Regions from separate parts of the Homo sapiens genome. Here regions 1 and 3 are each linked to region 2. Evidence: promoter capture Hi-C in 16 types of primary human blood cells and fetal thymus (Javierre and others, 2016). All regions are on one chromosome and are shown on one strand. Each heading gives the region's core, a stretch centred on a gene start or on the middle of the fragment in contact. The rest is flanking DNA. Distances are from core to core; before and after follow the strand shown.

Region 1 (3,770 bases), core at 1,271-3,770, 2.0 Mb before region 2:
AACTCTTCAGTGCCCAGACACCAACAAAAATCCACAAGCATCAAGACCACCCTGGTAAACACGACCTCACCAAACAAACTAATGAAGGCACAAGTGACCAATTCCAGAGAGAAAGAGATATGTGACTTTTCAAACAGAGAATTCAAAATAGCTGTGTTGAGGAAGCTCAACAAAATTCAAGATAACACAGAGAAGAAATTCAGAATTCTACAAGATAAATTTAACAGAGATTAAAACAATTAAAAAGAATCTAGCAGAAATTCTGAAGCTGAAAAATCCAATTAACGTACTAAAAAATGCAGTCCCTTACAGGCAGAATTGATCAAACAGAAGGAAGAATTAGTGAGCTTGAAGATGGGCTATTTGAAAATACACACTCAGAAGAGACAAAAGAAAAAAGAATAAAAATGAATGAGGTACACCTATAAGATCTAGAAACTGGCTTCAAAGGGCAAATCTAAGAGTTACTGGCCATAAAGAGGAGCTAGAGAGAGAGATCAGGGTAGAAAGTTTATTCAGCGAGATAATGACAGAGAACTTCCCAAACCTAGAGAAAGATATCAATATTCAAGTACAAGAAGGTTATAAAACACCAAGCAGATTTAACCCAACGAAGACACCCCAAAACATTTAATAATCAAACTCCCAAAGATCCAGGATAAAGAAAGAATCCTAAAAGCAAGCAAGAGAAAAGAAACAAATAACATAAAAAGGAGTTCTAATAAGTCTGGCAGCAAACTTATCAGTGGAACTTTACAGGCCGGGAGGGAGTGGCATTACATATTTAAAGTGCTGAGGGAAAAAACTTTTATCCTAGAATAGTACATCCAGTGAAAATATCCTTCAGATGTGAGGGAGAAATAAAGACTTTCCCAGGCAAACAGAAGCTGAGGGATTTCATCAACACCAGACCTGTCCTACAAGAAATGCTAAAGGGAGTTCCTCAGTCTGAAAGAAAAGGACATTCGTAAGCAATAAGAAACCACCTGAAGGTACAAAACTCACTACTAATAGTAAGTACACAGAAAAACACACAATATTATAATACTGTAATTGTGTGTAAACTGTTCATATCTTGAGTAGAAAGACTTAGAGATTAACCTAACTTATCAAAAATAATAGCTATAACAACTTTTCAAGACATAGTATAATAATATATAAATAGAAACAAGAAAAAGTTTTAAAAGTGGGGAGAGTGAAGTTAAAGTGCAGAGTTTTTCTTAGTTTTCTCTTTGATTTTTGTTTATGCAATCAATGTTATGTTGTCATCAGTTTAAAACAATGGGTTATAAAATATTATTTGCCCTGGGCGTGGTGGCTCACACCTGTAATCCCAGCACTTTGGGAGGCCGATGCGGGTGAATCACCTGAGGTCAGGAGTTCGAGACCAGCCTGACCAAATAGTGAAACCCCATCTCTACTAAAAATACAAAAATTAGCTGGGCGTGGTGGTTTGCTCCCGTAGTCCCAGCTACTTGGGGGGCTGAGACATTAAATGGCGCCACTGAAGAAGAATGAATAAGGTCTAGTAATACAACAGGGTGACTACACTCAACAATAATTTATTGTACATTAAACAAACTAAAAGTATAATTGGATTGCTTGTAACAGAAAAAAAGGATAAATGCTTGAGGTGATGGATAGACCGTTTACCCTGATGTGATTATTATACATTGTATGCCTGTATCAAAATATCTCATGTACCTCTTAAGTATATATATATATTTACCTACTTCGTACTCATAAAAATTTTAAAAGGTACATAAATGTTATCATTGCATCCTCTTAATTTTATTTTTCAGTTCCAGAGGGATAATCCTGTCTCTGCCGCAAATGCAGCACCTTCCTCAGTCTTGGGGCGTCCATCAAGCGGAGAGCTGGAATGTGACTGAAAGTAACAGAGTATAGGTGGAACTAGAACAAGGTCACGAGCTGGTGCCCAACTCGTGTAACTCCTGGTTCCAGGCTGTCCCTCTAGGATGCTGTTGGCGCCAGCCGTGGTAGTAGGACAGAGTCTGGGTAAAGGTCGCCTGCTGACAAGATGGTAGCTAGGAGACCTCTAGGTGCGCCAAAATTAGGGCGTCTTTTCCTGGACCGGCAAAACGCCCTGCTCAAAGCTCATTACATCACCACGCCCAAGAACTGATACTTTAGCAGGGCAACGCACCAACCAAGCGACTCCGCCCCACCCTCCCCGCTCCTCCAGCACACGCAAGCGCACAGAGGCCCGCGAGTGACGTCACCTCTCCCGACACCACCTCGTTGTCGTACGACCAAAGGCCTGTCGTAACGGCCGGGAAAAGCCTCGAGAAGAAGGGCACGCACGCCGTACACCCTAACATGCTCGCCAGCATGCGCGCGCAGGTCCTTGGCGCAGGCATTGGGACTGGAGCCAATGAGGTGCGGCGACGTTACTGCGTAGCCGCCAGCTCGGCCGCACGTCAGGGCGCGGGAGCGCGGAGCGAGTTTGGTTGCACTTACACCGGTACTTAAGCGCGGACCGGCGTGTCCTTGGACTTAGAGAGTGGGGACGTCCGGCTTCGGAGCGGGAGTGTTCGTTGTGCCAGCGACTAAAAAGAGGTGAGAGCGGGTCGCGGAGGCCGCACCTGGTTAGAGGCAGAGCTGTGGGAGGCGCGCACTTGCGAGCGACCGAAACCCAAGCGGGGAGCATTCGAGTGGAGCCCGCGCTGGGTGGGAGGGCGGGGAGTGAAGACCCTGGACTGTGGTCAGACCGAGCTGGGCGAGTAACGGCTTGAGGTGCGGCGGAGCCCTAACTAGGGACAGGTATGGTCTCGGTCAGGGACTGGAGGCGGCTTGGATACAGATCCGAGGAGGAGGCGGCCTCTTCCGTAGTGGTTGCTGAAGGGCTATGGAAATGATAGGCAAGACTTCCCTCCTGGAAAGCCGAAGCTTAGAGCTTCACGTTCTTCTTCAGAGGGCAAAAGCTGTTGCTCTTCTAATAAGGGGCCAGTTCTTTTCGTGGGCACATGTTTCTTCCGTCAGTCGTTCTGACATCCTAGAAGGAGTTTCATCAATCACCTTGAAACCGACCTGGACGGGTGACCTCGTGGTCGCCCCAGGAGATCACAGGTAGGGGAGTTGGGATGTCCCCGGGGGACCGTGCAGCCTGCCCCTGAGCTCCCATTCACAAGTTCGAGTGTCAAGCTACTCCTGTGACCTGGGCAGATAGAAACAGCCAGGACCGCTTTTTAAACATTTGTGTGCTTTGCGTTATCCTCAGGGAGAGGTGGCTTTACATTGTAGTAAGATTAAATGGTTAGGTCTTTTTAAAAGTTGCGGTTGTGGTGATTTTGGCTTAATGTGTTCGCCCTTGAGCTTCAGATCTGTGACTTCGTGACCATGATTGTCTCTTCTGAAACTGGAGTTTGAATTAGGTTCCCTCTTTGCTTGGGCTTTAACGTTCCTTCACGTATACACACAAAAATACGTTTTTGAGGAGGTACTCCTAAAAATGTTTTTGGTATTAAAGAATATTTGGTATAAAGAGTATTAAAGCAAAACAAGATTCATTCTGGTATTTAATGACATAAATTAGCAATGGATTGGTAATTAAGTGGCTAGAGTGGTCATTCATTTACACTGTATTTGTTACCTGAGGAAAAATTTACTAAGTTGAAGCTTTCGTTTTTAGAATTAAATATGGGTGATGTTGAGAAAGGCAAGAAGATTTTTATTATGAAGTGTTCCCAGTGCCACACCGTTGAAAAGGGAGGCAAGCACAAGACTGGGCCAAATCTCCATGGTCTCTT
Region 2 (3,700 bases), core at 278-2,777:
AAGGAACATGAATTTGAAAATAGATACATGAAAGTCAGTTACATAAATTAACGAATTCAGGCATTCACAGTACTTCAGCACAAAGGCCAGGCCAGGAAAGATTTAAAAGCATTCCCACAGACTGCACTGGTGCACTGTAGCAGGAGCTGGTGAACAAAGACAAAATCCCAGCAGTCAGCGTTTGCTTATAGAAACCAGAAGTTAATATCTTCATAAAAATCTTAAATTCCTCTACTGTTGCCCATATTCCCAGCAGAACCACCAGACAAAGCAAACTAGGTTTTGCAGTTACACATAACTCACATCCTGCTTTGTCCCCTTGAAACAGGATCCCAGTCAACAAAACCCAAACATTCCCACAAATCTACTTAGATGTGTATTATCTATAAATAAAGCTTACAGAAAGGAAAAAGTGACTTTCTATGCTTATCGGTGTAGATGTTATGGAATTAAAAAAAAAAAAAGCCTCTTTGTTTCACCTTCGCCAGCGTTAAAATCCGTTCTTTTCATAACCCACCTTTCGCCGATGTGCTGCAGAATTTCACGAATGCACCACACACCAAGGACAGAACAAAGAGCTCCTCTTAATAACAGAGGCGCACAGTGCCCTTAGAAGATGGCATGGTATTTATCGATGGCTGCTTCTGCTCTAAATTAGCACGAACAGGAGGACTCCTCTTCAACTAGCTCCACCGGGGAACACAGGAGGGGGCGGGGATCCTTATTTAAGAGCAGCTGATGTCAGGCCAGCAACTCTCCTCCCTTTGGGGGCTTCGGTTTGGGCTATGCCAACGGGTTTCTTCACACAAGATCTCACGGCACCTTAAAACGGCTCGCCAATGGAAGGATCCTCGCCCCACAAAGAGATAACTAGGGCAGAGCTGTTACACAACCGATACCCGACGGCGAAAGCCAGCCTGAGGAGTCCCCCAGGAGTCTGACTTGGGAGCTACATCCTCGGCAGACGAGAAGCACTTTTGCTCGAGAATTGTTTTACGCGCCCCTCTACCAACTGCGGAATCGCTCGCCTGCGAAAACGGAAGGAGGGGCGAGGACAGAGAAAGAGGGGCGCGATCCACAGGGCGCGGGGTTCCACCCCGGGAACCAGGGGCCCGAGCCCCGGACCACCTCCCACCGTCGTCCGTCACTCCCACAGAGGCGGTACCTGTTTCCGCATGTTATTCATGACGCCCATGAAACCCGCCAACAATTTAGCTTCTTCCCGAGCAGCAAGTTTCTTCTCGGTCTTCTTCTTGCTGCTCTTCTCCACCCCAGAGGCTGCCATCCTCCCTCAGCTCGGTTCACGCCCGGGGCTCGCCGGGCCGGGCGAGGGGTCGCACTCTCTGGGCACACTGGGGATTCTATCGACCAAACACGGCGATCGGCAGTGCAGCTGCAGCGCCCAGCTCTGGAACGCGCGGCAGGCGGCGGTGGCTCGGCCACTGCCGAAAGACAAGGCCGGGCGGCCCCCTTAGAAACGCTCAGGGAGCGACGCTACCAACTGGGCTGCGTCCCCGGGCAGAACCCGAGCCCTGCCCAGGAGCCTGCGCACTTCGCGCAAGGAGGCGGGGGCACTATGAGGAGAGTCAGGGGCGGGGCCTGACACGTCACAGTGGCGCGCCGTTCCGAGCAATGAGACTGCAGGCACAGGTGCGGCCGGATTCCCTGTCGCTGTCCCGCGCTGAGTGAATTTTGCCTCGGAGCTGGTCCGAGGTCGCGCCTGCTCTTTTGTGTGCCCAAGGCAGATTTCCAGGTTTCGGTTACGTGATTATCTTTTTTTTTTTTTTTTTTTTGATAATTGGGTTGTGGAACATGCAAAGGTGTCTCCCATCAGTGTAAGGCTTCATGGGACAGGGTCGGTGTTCAGTGCAGTATCTGAGCCTGGTGTATGGTAGGCGCTCAATAAATATTAAATGATGAAAGGATATTACTGCAAGTTAAAGTCATGTTACACGGAGCACAAGATTTATTTTCGTGGGATTCATAACGCAAGAGCACACAGTCCCGTTGGTGTCTCCTTGGCGTGCAATGAATGTCTGCCTAACTAGGCTGGCTTACTGTGTGTTTACAACTGAAATCAGTTGTCAGTCGGTTCTAGAAATCTTCAGTTAGGCTTCTCTAAGTGTTTTACGGGAACACGGAACTCAATCACAGCCCTCATGGAAATGTTTTTTGTAACCATATTCTTTCTACTGTATAGTAATATACAGGATTATTTGAAATTGTACATTATTTAACATTATGAAAACTTTATATCTCATTGGTTTTCCTCCTCGGTCTATATAGGACTATACAGAGACATTTTATGTAAAATAATTTACACCATTGAGGCTTTTTTTTTTTTTTTTGGAGGCAGGGTCTCGGCCCTGTCGCCCAGGCTGGGGGTGCGGTGCAGTGGCTAATCATAGCTCACTGAAGCCTCAGCACTCCTGGGCTCAAGCAATCCTCCCATCTCAGCCTCCCAAGTAGCTGAAACTACAGGCGTGCAACACCACTCTGGGCTAAGTTTTAATTTTTAAATTTTTTTGGTGGTGGTGGTGGTGGTGGTGGTGGTGGTGAAGAGGTCACACTATGTTGCCCAGGCTTGTCTCGAACTCCTGGTGTTATGCAATCCTCCCGCCTAGGCCTCCCAAAGTGCTGGGATTACAGGAATGAGCGGCCAGGCCTGGCCCACAGTATACTTTTCTTGTTGAGGACAAACCATATAGCATAATCCAGATGAAAGAGCAAGCTATATATACGCCTCAATTTTTACAAAAGAGTAAGATACTTATGTCTCTGTACTCTTTATCTTTCTTCTATTAATCTAGAGGTTCTCAGATGTGCCTCTATTTTAACTAGTTGATTTGGGGATTTCAGGTGAACCCTGGCAATAGGAATAATTTATTGTTAATAAAATTATAAATGAGAAAATTTTTCATTCACTTTATTAAATGACCCAGGACACTGAAGAAAAACGGAATAAATTTTTTTCTTTTTTTTTTAATTGAAAAGAAGTAGAAATCTGTCTTCTAACTCTAAGGCCTTGGGAGATGAAGGATCCGTGATTCAAAGGCAGAAATGTAAGTGATGAAAAAGAATGCTGTCCTGTAATAAGGCAAAAAAGAAACGAGGAACAGCATCCTTAGTCCTTGATGTTAGAACAGTCTTTTTACATATTGCTGAATATAAAACATCAAAGTTCATGGAAGAGCCATAGGATTCAGAGCTCAAAGAGGCCACAGAGATTATATAGTACAGGGATTAAGCATGAGACTTTGCCTGGATGCAAAGTCAAACATCTCAACTTTCTAGTTGTGCAACTTTGGGCAAATTGATTAACTTCTGTTATGCCTCAGTCTCCTTATCTGTGAAAGTAGAACCTACTACATGGAACTGGCGTAAGGTTTATAAAAATGCTTAGAGGGGTGCCAGCACAAGACACTTAAAATTACTTTACTGAGTTAATAATACACACATACTTCAGAGATATTTTGGGTTCTGTTCCAGACCACCACATAAAGTAAATATCGCAGTAAAGTGAATCACACAAATTTTTTGGTTTCCCAAAACATATGCAAGTTATGTTTACACTATACTGTGGTCTATTAAGTGTGCAATAATATTATGTCTGCAAAAGCAATGCACATACCTTAAAAAGTGCTTTGTTGCCAAAAAGTTGCTAATGATCATCTAAGCCTTTGCAAGTTGCAAGTTTTAA
Region 3 (3,497 bases), core at 70-2,569, 2.1 Mb before region 2:
AATTCAGTGAGGAGTTAGTATGAAACATGGCAGTAGAAATTCAGCTGTAAGGTCAGCAAGCTGGATCTGTGCAGACTCTAGTTGGCCTTATATGTTCCAGTGGATTTCAGCCAGTTTTATTAACCTACAAGCCCAGGCATTTCAGCATTTCAGCAATTTGTTTCTTTTATCTGCCATCCTGTAAACTCAAGAATTTCTATGACTGTTTTCTTTAACTCTTTGGCACACAGTTTCAACGCCCTTCTTCTCAGAGGTGGTCATTCTCACCCTCACCTTCTGGTTCCTGCAGGCTCATTTCTAGCCTCCCACACTGTATTAGTCTTTTCTCACAATGCTGTAAAGAACTGCCCAAGACTGGGTAATTTATAAACGAAGGAGGTTTAGTTGACTCACAATCTCACATGGCTGCGGAGGCCTCAGGAAACTTACAATCATGGCAGAAGGCCACGGAGAAGCAGTTACCTTCTCCACAAGGGGGCAGGAAGGAAAAGTGCTGGGAGAAGGGAGAAGAGCCTCTTATAAAACCATCAGATCTCGTGAGAATTCACTCGCTATTACGAGAACAGCATGGGGGAAACTGCCCCCATGATCCAATTACTTCCACCTGGTCTCTCCTTTGACAAGCGGGGATTATGGGTATTACAATTCAAGATGAGATTTGAGTGGGGACACAAAGCCTAACCATATCACACATATACACACAACCTAACCTCCTCACATCCCATTCCTTGATGGGGTGGCAGGTGGCGAGGGGGGGGTGACATCCCTTATTGTCAGCCATCACAGGAACTCATGACCCTGTAGGTGCAGATTCATGGCTCACATTTGTATCTTTTGGGGAAAACTGAGGTAATCAAGGTGGGGCTAGGCCCTGGGGACGAGGCAAGTAAAGGACTTTGCCATGTCCGCACCCACCAGGGAAGGAGCAGAGACTCTGTTAGGGCGCCATGCCAGGGGCTGCAGTTTCAGAATCCTGCAGACTCCACCCTCTATCTGGCCACACTGTCCCCAATTTTTGCGAGGTGACCTGGGGAGGGAGGACAGGTCGGATGCTCCGACCTCACCAGGGACTCCACTGGACCGGAGCTCTTCCTCCTCCGCCCAGTCCACATGAGAGAGCTCCCTGGCCGGCCCTGAGACAGCTCCAGACCTGGTAGCCCTGGAAAAAGAAACTGGTATCGCCATCGCCGCCGCCGCTAGAGGGCGCCTGGGGGCGGGGCGCGGGTGGGGCAAGGCGGGGTCCGACTGGAGGCAGGGCGGTGAGCCGAGAGGGGCGGGGCAAGGGACCGGGAGGCGGGGCCAGGGGTCGCAAGGCGGAAGAGCCCCTCTCGCCTCCGACCCGGCGCCTCGCACTCCGTTCACTCTCGGTTCCTCTTCGCATTCTTGCCAGTCCCGTAGCGCTGGGCTGGTTTCCTCCGAGGTCTCTAAGAGCCTCCTACTGCGCCCCGCTCGCCGCCCGGAAGCCCCCAGCCCCTCAAGGACGCATCACCTAATGCCGCGGTCACGGCCACCGTCACAAGCGCCCCCAGCCCCACCCCACCCCGGCCTGCCCGCCGTCCTTCTCCCGCCCCCGCCCCTGCCTGCCAGCTCCACCGGGCCGTAGGTGCGGACGACCTCAAAATTCCTCGGCCCGCGAAGGCCGCCAGCTGCGGGGAGGGGAGGGGAGGCGCGGTCCCGCAGCGCCCCCAGGCTCATGTCCCAGGTATGTCCAGACCCCCGAGGCACCGCTTGCAGGGCAGTGACAGCCCGTGAGGCTCGGCCTCGACCCCTGGCACCCTTGGTCCCAGCTACGCCGGCTCCTGGCCTTCCCCCAAGTCCGAGAGAGAGGTGGGATTCTCCCCGACGCAGTTGGAAACCGGGAATCCCCTTTAGGGTCCCGTTCGTGCTGCACTACTGACTCCACCATCTGCAAAGGGATTCTTGTCCAGAATCCCCGAAGGCTTTAGGACAGCGCTTATTTTGTTGAATGAAGAGTCTCTAATTTTCGGAAAGACCACAGGCTAAAAGTCAAGTGAGTTTTCTTGAATAGTTATAGTTAAATTTAAGGCAGGAATTGAATGTCAGTTGATGGCCACAAAGTAGCGGACTGGTACGAACCTACTGGATGATCATTCTGGTGACTACTTGGAGGCACCGTCCACTTTGTGGATTTGTTTCAGTTGAAATTTATTTCCATAGAACTTATTTAGGTCTCTATTTATTACTGATTTGACGGCTTTCAGTGCAGAGGGAAGCCTGTGACGTCTGTGCAGCGTCAGGTTGAACAATTTAGCAGTGTAAAATGTGTTTTCTGCCTGCCTTGACTCGACAAGCCAAATGTGCCCTCCTTTTCTTTTCCAGGTTGTGCCTTTTTAGCCAAGAAGCATGGAAGTCATTCACGGCAGGCCCTACTGTTGCAGGGAGCTTGAAGGAGCTGACATACTGTCCAACACCTTTTACTCTAATGAATTGCACAACCCCCTCCAGACGGTTACTCGCCCAACTGCCTCAGAGGACAGGTAAAACAAAAACTAGAAAAAGCAAACAAGAAAAAGCAGTTTTAATGTATTCGTGTATTTTATTATGTGAGGAAAAACATTTATTGTTCTGGGGCTCTTCTGTTTCTTGTTTGTTTGTTTGTTTGTTTGTTTTTGAGACGGTGTCTCGCTCTGTCGCCCAGGCTGGAGTGTAGTGGTGCGATCTCGGCTCACTGGGACCTCTGCCTCCCAGGTTCAGGTGATTCTCCTGCCTCACCCTCCAGAGTAGCTGGGATTACAGGCATGCACCACCATGCCCAGCTAATATTTTTGCATTTTTAGTAGAGACAGGGTTTCACTATGTTGGCCAGGCTGTTCTCAAACTCCTGACCTCAAATGATCCACCCACCTCGGCCTCCCAAAGTGCTGGGATTACAGGCGTGACCACTGCGCCGGGCCGGGGCTCTTCTGCTTATCATATAATAGGGAAGGCAAAACGTGGCAATTATCTGAACCTTCAAGTGTCTGTAAGGAACTCGAGAAGTAAGTGGCTGTCTACTATAAAAGCCACACATCAAATTCATCCACTACATTCTAAAATCTTAGAATGGTCCGTTCCTTCATTGGGAAATTAATATGTTGTAAGCAAAGACTTTTATAAATAGTACTGTATTGGTTCCCTAACATGCCCTTCTACCATCTGCCCAAAAATACTCCCAGAATTTGCTGCTTATACTTGTGTAAATTTTTGCTTCACCAAATTCCCTGTAACACATTAATTATACATTATGATTTAATTTATGAAAAGCAGTTTGGTGATTTCTCAAAGAACTCAAAACAGAATTACCATTTGACCCAGCAATCCCATTATTGGATTCTAAGTTGTTCTTATAAGTTGTTCTATCAAAGGAATATAAGTTGTTCTACCATAAAGACACATGCACAAGTATGTTCATCACAGCACTATTCACAATAGCAAAGACATGGAATCAGCATAAATGACCATCAGTGGTTGACTGGATAAAGAAAACATGGTACATA

The links. The method cuts DNA at HindIII sites, captures the fragments that hold promoters and counts their contacts. A CHiCAGO score of 5 or more calls a contact.
Region 1: the fragment with the promoter of CYCS here is called in contact with the fragment with the promoter of KLHL7 in region 2 in 1 of 17 cell types (activated CD4 T cells); the score reaches 5.7 in activated CD4 T cells.
Region 3: the fragment with the promoter of SPMIP4 here is called in contact with the fragment with the promoter of KLHL7 in region 2 in 5 of 17 cell types (naive CD8 T cells, activated CD4 T cells, total CD8 T cells and 2 more); the score reaches 12.7 in naive CD8 T cells.

What each region holds. Positions count from the first base shown.
Region 1 is chr7:25,124,010-25,127,779 of GRCh38, reverse strand. It overlaps CYCS (cytochrome c, somatic), which reads left to right and starts at 2,520. Exons shown (of 3, transcript NM_018947.6): 1 at 2,520-2,580; 2 at 3,653-3,770. The coding sequence starts at 3,661. It also overlaps a transcript of SPMIP4 not described here. RefSeq lists enhancers at 2,110-2,359, 2,507-3,050, 3,051-3,595. The HindIII fragment of the contact is 6,168 bases long and covers 1-2,912 here.
Region 2 is chr7:23,103,612-23,107,311 of GRCh38, reverse strand. It overlaps KLHL7 (kelch like family member 7), which reads right to left and starts at 1,527. Exons shown (of 11, transcript NM_001031710.3): 1 at 1,166-1,527. The coding sequence starts at 1,285. It overlaps KLHL7-DT (KLHL7 divergent transcript), which reads left to right and starts at 1,609. Exons shown (of 3, transcript NR_046220.1): 1 at 1,609-1,753; 2 at 2,995-3,062. RefSeq lists enhancers at 581-660, 366-1,352, 1,141-1,420, 1,541-1,730, 1,353-2,339. The HindIII fragment of the contact is 5,093 bases long and covers 398-3,700 here.
Region 3 is chr7:25,178,176-25,181,672 of GRCh38, reverse strand. SPMIP4 (sperm microtubule inner protein 4) reads left to right here and starts at 1,319. Exons shown (of 10, transcript NM_138811.4): 1 at 1,319-2,011; 2 at 2,341-2,498. The coding sequence starts at 2,365. The region is part of intron 1 of LOC124901603 (a long non-coding RNA gene); the gene reads right to left. RefSeq lists silencers at 1,084-1,473, 1,534-1,813. The HindIII fragment of the contact is 8,567 bases long and covers 1-3,497 here.